Regions from separate parts of the Homo sapiens genome. Here region 2 is linked to region 1. Evidence: promoter capture Hi-C in 16 types of primary human blood cells and fetal thymus (Javierre and others, 2016). All regions are on one chromosome and are shown on one strand. Each heading gives the region's core, a stretch centred on a gene start or on the middle of the fragment in contact. The rest is flanking DNA. Distances are from core to core; before and after follow the strand shown.

What was found. Contacts are between HindIII fragments. The CHiCAGO score rates a contact against its expected background, and 5 or more counts as called.
Region 2: a fragment that was not itself captured here is called in contact with the fragment with the promoter of MON1A in region 1 in 1 of 17 cell types (endothelial precursors); the score reaches 5.0 in endothelial precursors.

The regions. Positions count from the first base shown.
Region 1 is chr3:49,926,111-49,932,002 of GRCh38, reverse strand. It overlaps MON1A (MON1 vesicular trafficking associated A), which reads left to right and starts at 2,192. Exons shown (of 6, transcript NM_032355.4): 1 at 2,192-2,394. RefSeq lists a silencer at 2,136-2,485. The HindIII fragment of the contact is 4,855 bases long and covers 1,652-5,892 here.
Region 2 is chr3:49,738,883-49,745,386 of GRCh38, reverse strand. All of the region lies in intron 2 of IP6K1 (inositol hexakisphosphate kinase 1), which reads left to right. Among named protein-coding and RNA genes, the nearest start is that of GMPPB, 18 kb to the right of the region's middle. The HindIII fragment of the contact is 2,332 bases long and covers 372-2,703 here.

The DNA of each region.
Region 1 (5,892 bases), core at 943-3,442:
GTTGCAGTGAGCTGAGATGGCACCACTGCACTCTAGCCTGGATGATAGAGACTTCATTTGAAAAAAAATAAGTAAATTAAATTAATTTGTCTTCTATGGAGATGAATTCTATAGGGTGTAAATTCAAGTTAATGAAATATAGGCAGGATATTAGCCAGGCATGGTGGCTTATGCCTGTAATCACAGTACTTTGGGAGGCCAAGATGGGAAAATTGCTTGAGGCCAAGAGTTCGATACCAGCCTTGTCAACATAGCATAGTGAAACCACCATCTCTAAAAAAAAAATAAAAAAAGAAAAAGAAAAAGGAAAGGAACATAGCCAGGACATTTCTGTACCAAGCAGAGAATGTTATATCTTGACTTAAACTCTCCTTCCTTCCTTCCTTCCTCCCTCCCTCCCTTCCTTCCTTCTTTCTTAACTTTCTCCTTCTTGTTGTCCATGATCATGGCTCACTTCAGACTTGATCTCCTGGGCTCAAGTAATTCTTCCTGCTTCAGCCTGTGGAGTAATTGGGATTACAAGGCTGTGCCACCAAGCCCAGCTCATGGCTCAAACTCTTATAGTGTAATAATTAGAGAAAACAACTGTATAAATGATTCTTGCCCTAAGGGAGGGAACTTGGACTTCTGAGCTAATGAGGAGATAAAATACTGAGTGATCTGTGGAGACCTGGAGAGACTCTCAGTTAAGGAATAGGGCATTTTCTTATGTCCTTACCTAAAAGTGGGGGACATGGGGGTGAGAAAGCTTCCCTTAGACTATGTGCAAGAACTTGATAGCCTTATGCAAAGCCATCTTCAGTGAAAGGCCACAGCTTTGTCACCATGTCAGTCACAGGCCAGTGTTGTGGAAGCAGGCTACAAGTGGCAGCCATCTGAGACTGGAAGAAAAGCCCAGGGGCGGAGCTCTACCCTAACTCCAGTGTAGGGCTTAGAGAGGAAAAGGACACTGCCCCCAGGTGCTTGTGGAGCAGCAGGGAAAGTCAGAGGAGTGATCTGACTTTTTTTTTCATCCTATTAACTTTTGGGAGAATTAACCATAAGGCTGTAAAGTGAATTAATTGCTTCAGAAAAGAACATGAGCAGTGGTGCCAAACACTAATTTTACTTTTTAAAACCATCTCTAAAAATAAGGGTCTTTTGGGAGAGCCTGTTGTTGACTGTTTTCCTGTTGTTTTTATTGCTTTGCGTCTAGGAAATTACAAACAATGATTCTTTGCAATGGTAAATCACCTGGGGAGCTTTTAAAACAATAGTGATGCCTGGCTCCCCAACACTCCACCCTACTCTAAATTCAATTAAATCAAAATCTCTAGGGCTGGTGTCCAGGCATTAGTTTTTTTGTTGTTGTTTTTGAGACAGGGTCTCGCTCTGGTGCTCAGGCTGGAGTGCAGGGCATGATCATGGCTCACAGCAACCTCGACCTCCTGGAATCCCACTTCAGCCTCCCGAGTATCTGGGACTACAGGCACACGCCATCAAGCCTGGCTAGTTTTTGTATTTTTAGTAGAGATGGGGTTTCACCATGTTGGCCAGGCTGGTCTGGAACTCCTGACCTCAAGTGATCCGCCCACCTCGGTCTCCCAAGTGTTGGGATTACAGGCGTGAGCCGCCTCGCCCGTCCTAGTTCTTTTTTTTTTTTTTTAAAGCTTCCCGGCTTATTCTATGTGCCGTCAGAGTTGAGAACTACCGTTCTAGAGCATTATACTGATACATTAAAACGTGGCTACAAATATGTTTTTAGAAACAATTAGTGCGACTTTTGCGCATGCCCACATCCTTTACAGCCTGTGTGGCTGGGCCCACTAATGACATTTATCCAGTCCCCCAAACTTGCACTGTCCTTCCACAATCAGTGGGAGAAACAATCCTAACGTCCCTTTCTCTCACTTGAAATGAACTGCTAGCTGGCTCGGACGGAGAGGCCCAGAGTCCAGGGCTGTTCTGTGTGGGACTCTAGACTCGGAGGAGGCGCCCAGGCCCCTAGAAGGCGGCGCCGGATGAGGCAATCGCGGACCCGGGTCAGGACCTGCCCACGGCTCTGCTGGGACTAGGAGCCCAGAACCAGTCCCTCGGCGCCGCAGGCGGCCAAACGCTAAGGACTACATTTCCCACAATGCACCCCGGGGGCGGGCCGAGTCGGGCTGAGCGGCTGGAGCTGGGCCTTGGCCGCGAGAGGCCGGCGAAAGCTATCTTCCTGCACCGGCGGCCGGGTGAGGGCGGTGGGAGGGAGCGGTGCCTGCGCTGTGGCCATGTCTGTGTACGCAGGGGGCCGGGGCCCCGCGAAGCTGTGCCCTCAGGCCGGCCCCGGCCGGACACCCTTACCCCTCCATGGGTCCGGCAGAGGGCAGTGACCGGCACCTTCTGTGCGTCCTGGACTCCTCTGAGAAACAGGTGAGTTGACTGCCAGCCCACGTGGCCTGGAGGCACCTAGAGACTGGAGAGCTGTCATCTTTGGAGGGAGGGGCTTGAAGACGGGGGCCTCCAGCCATCAACGCTATCGTTTGCAATGGGAAGACTGTGTCTCCCTGCGGTCCCTCAGCCGGCTAGTCCCCAGCTGGGGAATACAAAAGGCGAGATCTGGAACCCATCCTTTGGCTGGGAGGGCGAGATCCGGTAGGGGGCAGTGGCCAGGTAGGACTCTCCCCACTCCCCCACCCCCGCCCCGCCAACAAACGTACACATATTCGGCCGGTAGAGTCTTCTCAAAAAGCAACAGAGGTAACTGGGATGAGCGGGGCAGCACCTGGAAGGGGCTTGGGTCTTTGCTTTGTTGTTTTTAGACGGAGTTTCACTCTTGTTGCCCAGTCTGGAGTGCAGTGGTGTGATCTCAGCTCTCTGCAACCTCCGCCTCCCAGGTTCAAGCGATTCTCCTGCCTCAGCCTCCCGAGTAGCTGGGATTACAGGCATGCGCCACCACGCCCAGCTAATTTTTTGTATTTTTGTATTTTTTTAGTAGAGACGGGGTTTCACCATGTTGGCCAGGCTCGTCTTGAACTCCTGACCTCAGGTGATCTGCCTGCCTCAGCTTCCCAAAGTGCTGGGATTACAGGCATGAGCCACTGCGCCTGGCCGGACTTTGCACCAGTTTGCCTGGTGCAACTGGGTTGTCCCTTGTACTGGGTGAGCCACCCTTTCTGGGCACAAGTTTGCAGAGGGAGAGTGAGCACCCTTTGTCAGGGAGGGAAGTAACCGCCAGAAGTGACAAGGACCAGACTGTGATCTCAGCATGGAGTAGGCATCCTGCTGAAGCAGCCATAGCACAGCCTCACCTGGGCCTTGTCTGCCACACATCCTGTATCCTGGCACCTCCTTTCCAGACAGGCCGCTCCAAAGGGTTAAGGTGAAATGAAGTGCTATCCAAGCAAGAAGAGGGAGCAGGAGTGGTAGGGAGTCAGTAGGGAGGGGCTTCTGAAGGCCTTCTCTGCTCCAAGGCTGCCTGAGTGAGAGAGGCACACTACAAGGGCTGATTGAGCCAACTTGTTTGGTGACATTGCTCACAGGCATAGCAGGGCACTTCTAGGAAAAGCAAGGCCTGGGGCTTCTAGAGGGGTTGTCTGAGAAGGGTTCCCTGAGAAGGGGCATCTGGGGCTGGTTCTAAGAGACCTCCTTTGCCTAACTTCTTCAATTCTAGCCTCCCAGGAGCTTCAGTTGCACAGTTGTGGCTCCAATGGGGGTTGGGGTGGATTTTGCTGTGATTCACTCAGCCTCCCTGTCTGAGTTTCCAGAGTAAGTATTCAGAGAGCTGTTTGCTTCATCAGGCCTCTGGCTGGACCCCAGACTGACCTAGGAGATGCTGAGATACTGTATGATCTCAGGTGGCAGGAGAACTATTGTGAAGGAAGCATCCACTAGCTCTGGCCAGCTGATCTGGCCCCCGCCAACCCTTCCCCATGCAGGTACCGTGCTGGGTACCACTCAGCCACACTGGGCTTAGTCAGCTAAAGCCCACAAGGGATCAGTGGAGAGTGGGCCCTGAGGACAGAATAAGTAAGCTATTGTAGACCTTGTTTGGGTCTTTGAACCAAAAGTGCAACGTCACAGAGCAGTGGCATGTGGCAGACCAAGGAGTTTTTTGTTTTTTTTTGTTGTTTTTTTTTTTGAGACAGAGTTTCAATCTTTTGCCCAGGCTGGAGTGCAATGGCGCGATATCAGCTCACTGCAACCTCTGCCCCCTGGGTTCAAGTGATTCTCCTGCCTCAGCCTCCTGAGTAGCTGGGATTATAGGCGCCTGCCACCATACCTGGCTAATTAAGGAGTTTAATTTAGGAGATACTTCCAAGAGCAGCAGAGAGCCCGTTGTCTATTCCTGCAACTCCAGAGCCAGTGAACAACCAGTTAGCCTGGAGGAACTCCCAGCTGTCTATAAGACAGCTCTTTGACCTGACTCCCAACTGTCTATATGATAGCCCTAGCCTGAAGGTGAGTCGCTTCAGGCTAGGGCCCACCTGGCTTTGCAAGGTCAGAAGCGTATTTGCCCATATGCCACTGTAGGCTGAGCAAAATCTCAGAGGCCCGATTTACATGGCACAGACCACTGGATTCATGTGGTATTATAAGTGCAGTCACACATGGACTGAATGCTAAGTAAGAATAATCAGGATGTGCTAATGGGAGCAACTGAGTATGTAATCAAATTACATGGATTATTTCATTTAATCTTCCCACAACCCAAGGAATCAATACTACTATCCCATTTTATAAATGAGAAAACTGAGACCAGGCCAGGTTAATCCAGGTCCCTCTAACTTCGGAGCCATTGTTCCTGAACACCTGAGTAGTACCAGTGATAAGTCTTCCCCACAGGCAGGGGTTTCCAGAGGCCACATCACAGGTGTGACAGAGCTGGGCATTCTTCAGAGATCTTTCAGTTTTCCCTTCCATTTTTCTTTTTTAATTGCCTGAGGGATAAAAACACAAGTTCAGCTGGGCGCGGTGGCTCATGCCTGTAATCCCAGCACTTTGGGAGGCCGAGGCCGGTGGATCACCTGAGGTCAGGAGTTTGGGACCAGCCTGGCCAACATGATGAAACCCCATCTCTACTAAAAATACAAAAATTGGATGGGCATGGTGGTACACACCTGTAATCCCAGCTACTCGGGAGGCTGAGGCACAAGAATTGCTTGAACCCAGGAGGCAGAGGTTGCAGTGAGCCAAGATCATGCCACTGCACTCCAGCCTGGGCGACAGAATGAGACTCCATCTCAAAAAAAAAAAAAATCTCCCTCCCAAAGATGTCTGTTGGCTGGATGTGGTGGCTCACACCTGTAATCCCAGCACTTTGGGAGCCCTAGGAGGGAGGATCTTCAGTTCAGGAGTTTGAGAACAGCCTGGACAACATACTGAGACCCCATCTCTACAAAAATAAAAATTAAAAAATTAGCCAGGCGTGGTGGCACGTGCCTGTAGTCTCAGGTACTCAGGAGGCTGAGGTGGAAGGATCATTTGAGCCTGAGAGGCCAGGGCTACAGTTAGCTGTGATTGCATCACTGCACTCCAGCCTGGGTGACAGAGTGAGATTCTGTCTCAAAAAAAATAGAACTCCTCCCGCATGTGGCTTAAAGCCATACTGAAATTTGTGGTAGGTCACAGGGTAACCTTCAATCCAGAGAAATAAAGCAGGGCAAGAGGGGTAAGGAGCAGGGATATTGATAAGGTAATGCTTGAGCAGCAACCTGAAGGGAGTGAGGGACTGAGTCACATAGATAACTAGCCCAGGCAATGGAGTAGGTGAAGTGGGGTGCAGGGGGAAAGTTCAGCAACGGCAAAGTTCTAAAGTTAAAGAGTGCCCAGGAGGCTTAAGGAAAGCCAGGAGGCCACTATGGCTGGGCTGAATCACAGTTAGTGGGGAAAAAGGATAAGAGATGAGGTCAAAGAAGTAATGGGGAAGGA
Region 2 (6,504 bases), core at 288-2,787, 190 kb after region 1:
GCTTTTTAAATTTCATTTTTATTTTAATTAACCTCAGGGATTTTACTTATGCTTGGAATGTTCTTTCCAGTACCCTTATCCACACCTGCTCCTCCAACCTTTAGTTTATTAGGTCTCCCCAGACACTTCTTCCCTGATCATCCTATATTATATTCTGCTCTGGAAACCATATTTTCAGTGATAGAACCTTACTTAGTTTCTTCATAGCACTTATCACAATCTGTATTTTTGTCTATGTGTTTGTTTTTCACATTAGTATGGAAGCTCCTTGAAGGTATGGACTTTTTTTTTTGTCTTTTACACTTATGAGTTCAGGGCCTGGCATCTAGTAGATGGTCAGTAAATACTTGATAAATGAATGAGGCAAAGCTTATTTGCATAAATGTACAGAAGCCTTGAACTTCACATTTAGTACTGCAAGCACTAACAGTTGATGATTGTAGCTGGTCATACTAAATAAATGAAAATTTGTTTTTAAACCTGCCAAGATATGAAATATTATTGACACTTTTTCTTAGCTTAATTGAGCTTAAACACCTGTGCTGATAGCAGCAATTAGATGTGTGTATGTGTGTGGGCTAGTAATCATACATGTATTTCTTAGCTCCATGTGCTGAAAGGGCCTAAAAGCAGTGATACTTCAGTAGCAATCAGTATATCTAGTAACCAAATCCTGAGTTTTCTAAATACCATTCTTACAATAAAAAGAAACAGAGCTCCTTGGTGAAATGGTTGGTTCCTGAGTTCGGGCAGGAAAATTATAAGACAAGCCTAGAACATCTTATGGTGACAGATAGTAAAGAAGTGGTCAAAAATCATGTCAGAAGTACGAAGAGCTAACTTTAAAGGAATTGAAGGGCCCAATCTAGAAGAATTTAAATGACAAAATATCCACAAGTCTATACTGATAAATACATGGATATGAAGGGACAACTCTTCCTTATAGAATTCTAATTTCTTTTTTTTTTTTTTTTTTTTTTTTTTTGAGACGGAGTCTCGCTCTGTTGTCCAGGTTGGAGTGCAGTGGCGCAGTCTCGCCTCACTGCAAGCTCTGCCCCCCGGGTTCACGCCATTCTTCTGCCTCAGCCTCCCGAGTAGCTGGGACTACAGGCTCCCGCCACCAAGCCTGGCTAATCTTTTGTATTTTTAGTAGAGACAGGGTTTCACCATGTTAGCCAGGATGGTCTCAATCTCCTGACCTTGTGATCCACCTGCCTCGGCCTCCCAAAGTGCTGGGATTACAGGAGTGAGCCACCGTGCCCGGCCAGAATTCTGATTTATTTTGATTAATAAATATAGAAGGAATGATGGGAATAGAAGTCACCATTAGGCAGACAACACAGTAATACCATTCAGCACACACCATTAGGCATTACACACACCATTAGACATTACAACACAGTAATAATTGTGGCGCATTGTGCAGTGGTGCAATCATACCTCACTGCAGCCTCGAAACCATGGCTCCGCCGGGCATGGTGGCTCATGCCTATAATCCTAGCACTTTGGGAGGCCGAGGCAGGCGGATCACCTGAGGTCAGGAGTTCGAGACCAGCCTCGCCAACATGGTGAAACCCTGTCTCTACTAAAAATACAAAACTTAGTTGGGTGTGCTGGCAGGTGCCTATAATCCCAGTTACTTGGGAGGCTGAGGCAGAAGAATCACTTGAACCCGGGAGGCAGAGGTTGCAGTGAGCAGAGACCACGCCATTGCATTCCAGCCTGGGCAACAAGAGTGAAACTCTTGTCTCAAAAAAAAAAAAAAAACAAAAAAAAAAAACTATGGCTCAAGTGATCCTCCCACCTCAGCCCCCCGAGTAGCTGGGACTATAGGCACGCCACTACAACTAGGTAATTTTTAAAGTTTTTTGTAGAGACAGGGTCTTGCTCTGTTACCCAGGCTAGTTTTGAACTCCTAGCCTCAAGGAATCCTCCCACCTTGGCCTCTCATAGTGCTGAGATTTAAGAGATCGGACCTCACTATGTTGCCTGGGCTAGTCTTGAACTCCTGGTCTCAAGTGATCCTCCTCCATGAGGCATGATACCTCAGCCTCCCAAGTAGCTGGGATCACAGGTGTGAGCCACTGCTCCCAGCTGAAAGGTAAGTGTGTGTGTGTGTGTGTGTGTGTGTGTGTGTGTGTGTGTATTTTGTTTTTGTTTTTGTTTTGAGATAGGGTCTTGCTTCATTGCCTAGGCTAGAGTGCAGTGGTATGAACTTGGCTCACTGCAACCTCTACCTCCTGGGTTCAAGGACCTCAGCCTCCTGAGTAGCTGGGACTTACAGGTGCCTGCCACCATTCCTGGCTAATTTTTGTATTTTTAGTAGAGATGGGGTTTCACCATGTTGGTCAGGTTGGTCTCGAACTCCTGACCTTAAGTGACCCACTTGCCTTGGCCTCCCAAAGTGCCTGGATACAGGTATGAGCCACCGTGGCTGGACTGTGTGTTTTTTTAATATAAAATTTTAGTCCAATTTATTTATTTATATACTATTTTGAGACAGGGTCTCACTCTGTTGCCCAGACTGGAATGCAGTGGCACGATCTCAACTCACCACAGCCTTGACCTCCTGGGCTCAAGTGATTCTCCCACCTCAGCCTCTGGAGTAGCTGGGACCACAGGTGTGCACCGGCTCTTTTTTTTTGTATTTTGTAGAGACAGGGTCTCACCATGTTGCCCAGGCGGGTCTCAAACTTCTAAGCTTAAGTGATCTGCCTGCCTTGGCCTCCCAATGTGCTGGGATTACAGATGTGAGCCACCATGCCTGGCCCTGAAATAGATTAATTTGACTAATAATATCTTCCACTATGCTTCTATTTTTTTTTCTTTTTCTTTTTTGAGATGGAGTCTCACTCTGTTGCCCAGGCTGGAGTGCAGTGGCGCGATCTTGGCTCACTGCAAGCTCTGCCTCCCGGGCTCACGCCATTCTCCTGCCTCAGCCTCCCGAGTAGTTGGGACTACAGGCGTGTACCACCACGCCCGGCTAATTTTTTGTATTTTTAGTAGAGACAGGGTTTCACCGTGTTAGCCAGGATGGTCTCAATCTCCTGACCTCGTGATCCGCCCCCCTCAGCCTCCCAAAGTGCTGGGATTACAGGCGTAAGCCACCGTGCCCAGCCTATGCTTCTATTTTCTTTGACTAAATTGGGCTTCATTTGACTTAGAAAGAAGGGATTAATTTTAGTTTAATTGAATTGTACTTTTGAGCTAGCATATTTATTCTTTCCTAGTGAAAATGTAGCCTAAGCAAAGAAAATAAAGTAGATCCTAAGAATTTACTGTGGCTTTTATTTTTTTATTTTTATTTTGAGACAGGGTCTTGCTGTGTCGCCCAGGCTGGAGTGCAGTGGTACAGTCATGGCTCACTGCAGACTCAAACTCCTGACCTCAAGCAATCCTCTCATATTATGGCCTTTAAAGATACCTGTTACTCAGTTTGAGAGGAGGAAGGTGTGAGGAAATACTGAACCAGTGCTAGAGACTGCCAACCCTTCCCTGGGAGGCACCTTGAAGTTCTAAATTGTCTTGTCCCAGTTCTGATGGTTGTAATTTAGAGAACACCTATCTGGAAGCAGGGCTCATTTACCTTTTAAGGGATTTTTTCCTTAGCATCAGAAGGACTCCATGAGCTGACAGGGCCTATAGTTTTATTTCTGGCTTTGGCATATTTATGGCAGAATGTTTGGCCTTCAGTGTTTTGAATGTGGATGGATAGGTGGCTGAAGCTACATTTATAAAGTGTTTGGGACTGTTAAAGTTTCCTAGCCACTTGGAGAAAGCAGTGTGTTTATTTCTGGCTTTGTTCTTATTTAGCAGCCTTAGAATATTTATTTTTCCAAATTTAGTATTCTTCTGATTATGTTTTGAAAGCAATAAAAATCACCCAGTTTCAAAACTGCACAAAGGGCTTGAATAGAGATTTTTCCAGAGAGGACATACAGATGGCCAGTAGCACATCAACATGATTAGTCATTAAGAAATGCAAATCAAAACCAAAATAAGATACCACTTCATACCAGGTATCTTATTTTACCTAGTATGGCTATAATAGTTTAAAGAAAAAAGGGAAATAACTGTTGGCAAGGATGTGGAGAAATGGGAACATTGCTGATGAAAATGTAAAGTGGTGTAGCCACTGTGGAAAAGAGTTTGGCAGTTCCTCCCAAAGGTGAACACAGAAACCATATGATCCAGCAATTCCACTCCTACATATATATCCAAAACAATTGAAAACAGGGACTGTGGCCAGGTGCAGTGGCTCATGCCTGTAATCCTAGTACTTTGGGAGGCGGGCAGATCACCTGAGGTCAGTAGTTCAAGACCAGCCTGGCTAACATGGCAAAACCCTGTCTCTGCTAAAAAATACAAAAAGTAGCCGAGCGTGGTGGCAGGCACCTGTAATCCCCGCTCCTCAGGAGGCTGAGGCAGGAGAATCACCTCGGGAGGCGGAGATTGCAGTGAGCTGAGGTTGCACCACTGCACTCCAGCCTGGGCGACAGAGCAAGATTCCATCTCAAAAAAAAAAAAAAAGAAAAAAGAAAAAACAGGGATTCAAATGGATTGTTGTAAGCCAGTGTTCACAACAGCATCATTCATAATAGCTAAAAGGTGGAAACAACCCAAGTGTCCATCAATATAGATAATACATAACAGATGTGATATATACTTACAATGGAATACTATTGAGCCATAAAAAAGAATGAAGTTCTGATATATGCTGTGACACAGATGAACCTTGCAAACACTATGCTAAGTGAACTAAGCCAGACACAAAAGAACAAACATTGTATGATTTCACTTATATGAAATATGCATAATAGGCAAATCTGTAGAGATAGAAAGTAGATTTGGTTACTGGGGCTAGGAGGAAGGGAAAATGGGGAGTTACTGCTTAATGGGTACAGCATTTTTGTTTCAGGTGATGAAAAACATTTTGGAAATAGATAATGGTGGTGGTTATTCAGTATTGTCAATGTACTTAATGCCCACTGAATTGTACCTTTAAAAATGATTAAATGGCTGGGCATGGTGGCTCACACCAGTAATCCTAGCACTTTGGGAAGCGAAGGCAAGAGGATTGTTTGAGGCCCGGAGTTCCAGACCAGACTGGGCAACATAGCAAGCCTTGTCGCTACCAAAAAAAAAAAAAAAAAAAAAAGAATTGCAAATTTTATGTTTCTATCGATCGATCTATTGACTGAACACCACAACTTATTTTTATTTTTATATTTTATAGAGACAGGGTCTTGCTGTGTTGCTCAGGCTGGTCTTGAACTCCTGTGTTCAAGCAGTCCTGCCTTGGCCTCCCAAAGAGCTGGAATTACAGTGTGAGCCACTGAACCTGGCCCAAACACCACAATTTTATTTTATTTTTATTTTATTTTTTTGAGATGGAGTGTTGCTCTGTTGCCCAGGCTGATCTTGGCTCACTGCAACCTCCGTCTCCCGGCTTCAAGTGATTCTCCTGCCTCAGCCTCCTGAGTAGCTGGGATTATAGGCACGCACCACCATGTCTGGATAACTGTTGTATTTTTAGTAGAGATGGGGTTTCGACATGTTGGCCAGGCTGGTGTGGAACTCCTGATCTCAGGTGAGGTCCCAGCTACTTGAGAGGCTGAGGCAGGAGGATCACTTGAGTCCAGGAGTTCGAGGTTGTAGTGAGCTATGATGGCACCACTGCACTCCAATGGGACCCTGTCTCTTAAGAAGAAGAAGAATATTATAAAGAACTTTAGGCCGGGCCTGGTGGCTCACGCCTGTAATCCCAGCACTTTGGGAGGCCGAGACGGGTGGATCACGAGGTCAGGAGATGAGACCATCCTGGCTAACATGGTGAAACCCCGTCTCTACTAAAAATACAAAAAAATTAGCCAGGCATGGTGGCGGGTGCCTGTAGTCCCAGCTACTCAGGAGGCTGAGGCAAGAGAATCGCTTGAACCTGGGAGGCGGAGCTTGCAGTGAGCCGAGATCACGCCACTGCACTCCAGCCTGGGCGACAGAGCGAGACTCTGTCTCAAAAAAAAAAAAAAAAGAACTTTAAGCCAATAATTATTCTACAACATAAAAGAAATTGACAAAACATAGGGAGATCCTGTCTCTACAAAAAATAAACCATAAATGCTTCTCACTGATTTTCAGATTATAGAGCCAACTGTGTACATCTGAGAGTATAAAAGCAGAAATGTAGCTGACAGACAAAAGGTGGGATGTGGAAGTGAGACCAAGTTACTTTTTTTTCCCTTCAAAACCTCCTCCTCAAGTTTCTGGATATATGTATTTTTAAATTGTATTAAGAACACTTGAGAGGGGTCTTATTTGTGTTTTAACTCACTAAGATCCAGAAGACACTACAAACAACCCATTTGATTAAAATGGGCACAAAAAACTATTACGGATACAGCACGGCAAACAGAAGGATGTTTTATCTTCGAGATGCCAGGGGTGGAAGTTCTGTGTAGTGAGGCTGGGATAGCCTGATGCTCAGTGTGGGCAGAACACAGATTT